Regions from separate parts of the Homo sapiens genome. Here region 2 is linked to region 1. The links are contacts of gene promoters, found by promoter capture Hi-C in blood cells and fetal thymus (Javierre and others, 2016). All regions are on one chromosome and are shown on one strand. Each heading gives the region's core, a stretch centred on a gene start or on the middle of the fragment in contact. The rest is flanking DNA. Distances are from core to core; before and after follow the strand shown.

The links. The method cuts DNA at HindIII sites, captures the fragments that hold promoters and counts their contacts. A CHiCAGO score of 5 or more calls a contact.
Region 2: a fragment that was not itself captured here is called in contact with the fragment with the promoter of SALL3 in region 1 in 1 of 17 cell types (M2 macrophages); the score reaches 5.9 in M2 macrophages.

The regions. Positions count from the first base shown.
Region 1 is chr18:78,978,372-78,981,071 of GRCh38, forward strand. It overlaps SALL3 (spalt like transcription factor 3), which reads left to right and starts at 1,447. Exons shown (of 3, transcript NM_171999.4): 1 at 1,447-1,985. The coding sequence starts at 1,904. It overlaps LINC01896 (long intergenic non-protein coding RNA 1896), which reads right to left and starts at 1,320. Exons shown (of 5, transcript NR_187297.1): 1 at 669-1,320; 2 at 92-367. The HindIII fragment of the contact is 14,735 bases long and covers 1-2,700 here.
Region 2 is chr18:79,303,632-79,306,331 of GRCh38, forward strand. ATP9B (ATPase phospholipid transporting 9B (putative)) reads left to right here. Exons shown (of 30, transcript NM_198531.5): 14 at 1-85. Among named protein-coding and RNA genes, the nearest start is that of NFATC1, 91 kb to the right of the region's middle. The HindIII fragment of the contact is 833 bases long and covers 869-1,701 here.

The DNA of each region.
Region 1 (2,700 bases), core at 197-2,696:
TTTGGACCTGACTCCAACCTGCGCCCTCCCTTCCTCTATGACCCTCCTGCGCTTTTCCTGGAACCCAAAGCTCTGACTTCGTCAAACTTACACAATTAAAGGCAGGCGGAAGAACGCGGGCTGGGAAGCAAGCGGGAAGATTCTAGAATGGAAGGGAGCCCGCCGAGCGCCGCGAGCCGCGCCAGGCCGGGTCCGATGGAGCAGGCGGGGATTCCTCCCCCAGGCGGACCCCCGCCACCAGCCCTGCCGGGAGCTCGCGGCCTGCGGAGCGCCCGGGCTGGCCGCTCACCGCCCGCTTCCCCCAGCGAACGACTCGGGGAAGCTCCAGGAGGCCATCTGTGCTGACGGTTCACACCAGACAGGACCACTTGCAAGGACAAAAATAAGAAATTTAGGAAACGAAAAAAGACGTACTGGGGCGAGGGGCGCGGGCGCGGCGACGACGGGGCCGGGGGCACATCCTGGCGGCCGCTCGGGGAGAGAGGACACGCGCGGGAAGGAGCGCGGCGGGTGCACGGCCGCGGGTGGGAGTACGCGCCTGTGCGCGCGGGGCGAGGGCGAGGGCGCGTGCGTGTGACCGCGGGGAGGGGGCGGGCGCGTGTGCGGGGAGCGCGCCGCGCCAGGGGCCGAGTGTGTGGGGCCGATCCAGAAGTGCGCAGCCCCCTCACCTGGCCCCCGTGTCATCCCCGAAATCCCGGGAAAGGGTGGGCCGCGCGCGGGAGTTTGGTGGAGTTGGAACTTTCGGTCGCGCTCGCTGCCCACTCCGCTGGCGCCCGGTGGCCCGTGGTGAAGGGGGACTAGGGTGGGGAACACCGGGGCCCTGCGGTCCCCTCCCTTTCCTGTATTTAAGAAGCCGCCGGCGGCGCAGAGGCCCAGGCGGGCTGGCGCGGGGGCGAGGCGGCCCGGTGGCAGCAGCGGGCGGGGCGGGCGCTCCGGAGTCGGTGGGGCCCGCGGGTTGGGGGGCGGGGAGAGGGGGGAGTGGAAGGGAGGGGGAACGCAGGGGAGGGAGAGGAGGGGAGGAGCCGCGCGGCCCGCGCCGCTTCCGAACCGGAAAGTTGGTCTTGCCGAAGTCCTGCCACCCCGGCGTGCGCACTCCGCTCCGCTCCGGCCGCGAGCCTCCGAGCCCGGCCGGCCGCCGGGGGAAGCCCGCGGAGGGGACGCGGGGCCGGGCGAGAAGGTCCGGAGAGCGGGGGGCACCTGAGCCCGGGCGGGCCCGCCGCGCTGAGCGGCGCTGAGAGCCGCGGCGGAGCAGCGAAGGCGGCCGGCCGACCCCGCGCGCCCGGAACAGGAGGCGCGGCGCCCGAGCGGCCCGGGCGAGACAAAGGCGCCGGGTCGGAGCCCTGCCCGCGGCCGCTCGCTCCGGGAGGGGCCGCCCGGCGGCGGCGGCGGGGGGGGCGCGGGCGGCGGCGCAGACACTCTATAAAGGGGCGAGCCCGGCGCGCCGGCGGAGACGGCGCCGCGCGGACGCCGCCAAAGTTTGCTGCCTGCGCCCTGCGGAGGGACGGCCACCGCGGCCCGCGCCGCACCCGGGCCCCGCCACAGCCGCACCCGGGGCGGCCGAGGAGCGCGGCGCCGGAGCCCGCGATGTGAGGCGGCGCCGGGCAGCGCGCGCCCCGGTCCCGAGGCGCCGCGGCCCCCTCCTCGTCGGCGCGGCCGCTAATTGCGAGCGCGGCCTCATTTGCATAGGCCGCCGGAGTCCGCTGGAGCCCGGCCAATCGGCGCGGCCCTCCGCTAATGGCCATGCATTATTCACCAGCCTAATTGCTCAGCCCCATGCGCGGCCCGCGCAGCCGCCGCCGCCCCGCGCCCCGCGCCGCGCGCCCGCCAGGCCGCCCCGCGCCGTCCCCGCCGGCCGCCCCGCTGATGCCGCTGCCCCGCGCGGGGCCCGAGCGCCGCTAGCAGCATGTCTCGGCGCAAGCAGGCCAAGCCCCAGCACCTCAAGTCGGACGAGGAGCTGCTGCCGCCTGACGGGGCTCCCGAGCACGGTGAGGGCCGGGGCTGCGGGGTGGCCGGGGGGTCTGGGGCTGCCCGTCCGGGCTGGGGAAGCGCGTGCGGCGGGAGCGGATGCGCGCGTCCGGGAGCGGGAGAAAGTTCCCTGCTTCCTGCGGGCAAGCGTCCGCCCCGCGCCAGGCCGGCCGCGGGGCCCCGGGTACTTCGCCGGAGCGCGCGCGGCCGCCGAGAGAGTTGTGGGCGAAGTAAACTTGGCTCCTCTCCTCGGAGTCGGGGAGCTGCCCGCGAAGGGCGCCGAGGCCGCGGCCGGCTCGAGGACGGCTCGGAGGCCGGGGCGGGAGGGAGTCCACGGTGCCTCCGCCGCCGCGCCGCCCCCCAGGGTCTCTGCGCCAGGACGCTGAGGCCGGCGGCGGCGGGGAAGGCGACCGCAGCCCACCTACCGCTGGACGCGGGTTGGGGACCCCGCCGCCCGGCCAGCTTTGTTCGGGGGCCCGCGGCCCCTCCCGGGCCCCCGCACCGCCTCGGGTGACCCGCGGTGTCCCAGCGCGTTGACGCAGCCTGTGATCCCTCGCGAGGCGAGGAGAAGGTCGGGGGCTTGGCTCTGCCTAATGGCCGCCCGGGGAATTAAGCTGGGGGTGAGCGCAGCGGCGGCGGCCTGGGCCTGGCCCCTGCTCGCGGCGTGTTTCCGGGGCGTTCGTTGCAGCGTCTGCGCGGGCCTTTTCTCTCCCGTCTTTTTGGATCCGCCGAGGC
Region 2 (2,700 bases), core at 35-2,534, 330 kb after region 1:
TAAGCGGCTGCACCTGGGCACCGTGTCCTATGGCGCCGACACGATGGATGAGATCCAGAGCCATGTCAGGGACTCCTACTCACAGGTAAGTGGGTTCCTCCTGCACGGGGTCTGCTTCCACACACATCCCGCGCCATGAGTCCAGCTGAGCCTCGTGTGTTCCCATCTGTAAATTAGCACGCTTCTTGGTGGTCTTAACATCCTGCTACTTCAGTCGTCTGTTCGAATATACGAATCAGGAAATCGTCTTTGATGAGCATTTGTACATGAGTGAAATCGTAGAAGGCATAGTGTGCTGAAGTCATTTATTCATATCACATTTTACTAGTGAGTTATTTGTAAAAAATTATTCAGTAAACATTGTAGTTGAAGAATGTTCAGTAGGATACTACATCAATATGTTTTCTAACAGTTCTGTTTTTCTCTATAATAAAATGTTCTCATATTTTTAAAGGTAAATTCTTTTTTTGCCTTTTCGGTAGATAAAAGTAGACACCATCGTGTTGGGAATCTCGTATCTGTCATTCACCTACCTGTCATCAGTGCCCAGGTGGTGATGTTTCATCTGTAGGTGTTCTTCATTATTATTATATTATGACATGAAGCTCAAATATCACATTCTTTCATCTGTAAATATGTATTATGTGCCCCTAATTGATAAGGACTCTGCCTTTCGTTGGGGCCAAAGCTCCCTAAAGTTCTGAGAACAGGAATTAGAGGTTGAGTATCCCTTATTCAAAATGCTTAGGACCAGAAATATGTTGGATTCTGGATTTTTTTAGATTTGGAATATTTGCATTATCCTTACTGGTTGAACACCTCTAATCGCTTATCTGAACATCCCTTTGAGCATCAATGGCGTTCAAAAAGCTTCAAGTTTTAGAACATTTCCAATTTTAGATTTTTGGATCAGGGATACTCAACCTGTATTTGCTTTTAAAACAGGATTTAGCCTAGAGGCTGTACCACTTGCCAGAGATTTTGCAGGCAGTGGGTTGTGTATAGAGTCTGTCCATGGACCCAAGTCATCCTAACAGCCTCATTCCTGCTGTAGGCACCTCAGAGCCACCACACTGAGCACAGCCCTGGCCCTGAGGAGTGTTTCCTTGTCATTCATTTGCATTTTTTTGTGCCTGTCATAATTTGAAGTCATTGATTCAGTTTGATCAGACCTGGAGATCTGAGAGAATCAATTTAAGAGACTAGCAGACAAGGCTGCAGTGTGCGTCACAAATTTACACCTTCTGAGGCCCTTTTTCTGCCTGTTTGTTGATTTATTCTGAATATAGTGATCCACATAATAATGAGCTAAGGCCTATCAGGTTCAAAATTGTACATAGCTCACCCTGGGGGGTGTGACAGTTCCCAGCGCTGCACGGCACTGCTCCCCGGACTTGCAGAGGCCACCCTTCAAAAGTGTACACAGCCCACCCTGGGAGGTGACAGTTCCCAGCGCTGCATGGCACTGCTGCCCAGACTTGCAGAGGCCACCTGGCGACGTCAGCTGTGGAGTCTAGGAGACTTTTTGTATTTACAGTAATTTGTTTCAAACTTGATTTTCGCAGAGACTAGACTAAATGACACTTTCCCATTGCTGCGTTTCTACTCTTGACAACTCCAGAGTAGCATTCAGTGGTCAGCATTGTATTCAGTTTTTTGAAAACCTTCTCTTTCTTGTATACTTGCTACCAGTCTGGCATAAGCTTTACTGTCGGCATGCTGTCAAATGGAAGAAGTCTCATATGTGTATATATTTAGCATATGGAATGTTTATCCACACACATAAGCAAACAAACATACGTACACAGCCAAACACTTTATTATTTTGGATGTAATTCATTTAGATACGGAATATTTGTAACCTAGGATATTTATTAATAGAAGAAAAATCTTAAAAGGAGAAGGAATACAGTTTCTCCCAGGAATCTATTTCTGCGTTGAAATAGTACCAGATGAGCTCTGCTTTTTAAAAAAAAAAAATTATCTATGAATGTAATTTTAATAGCTTCAAATAAGTTATTAGGAAAAAATTAAAAGCAGAAAAGATGAAGCATCATTATATAAACACAGTAAATGTTTATTGTGCTTCCACCTAAGAGGACTTTTAAAATCATTTTTGCTGAAAGCTTCTGTTAGTTGAACAGACAGTACTTCTTATGTGAAATTGATCTGATTCTCTATCGGTATTCTGTTTTATTACTAAGATGACAGGAGTCTAGTAGGTCCACTGCCGTGCAACACAGATCTTTTATAACCTGATTGTATTTCCCCACTGGAGGCATTTGGTGATAGAGGGCATAATCTTTCATGGAATTTGTGTGAAATTAAATTGTACAAGCATCACTAAACATCACGTAGTTTGGAAGGAGGGAGCCAGCTGAGTTTGCTGTCTCGCAGCAGCGTGAGCAGGCGCAGATGGGCTGGGTCCTCACTGAAAGGCAGCACCAGCTGAGCAGAAAGTTAAACCCTTCATTAGACAGCACTGTAATTTGATGGGCAGGAGATTCACAGTTCATTGGATCTGTTCACCCAGTCCAAGCGTGAGAGCCTTGGTTTCCAAGGAGGATTGTCATGAGTTACTCCGAAGTTAACTGAAGAAACGTTTGACATCCTGTTGGGGTTGGGGGGAGTGTCCTCTGACACCCTCCGCCACGTAGGAGGTGAATAATAAAAAGTTATTGCTTTGGTGGTGCCGATGAA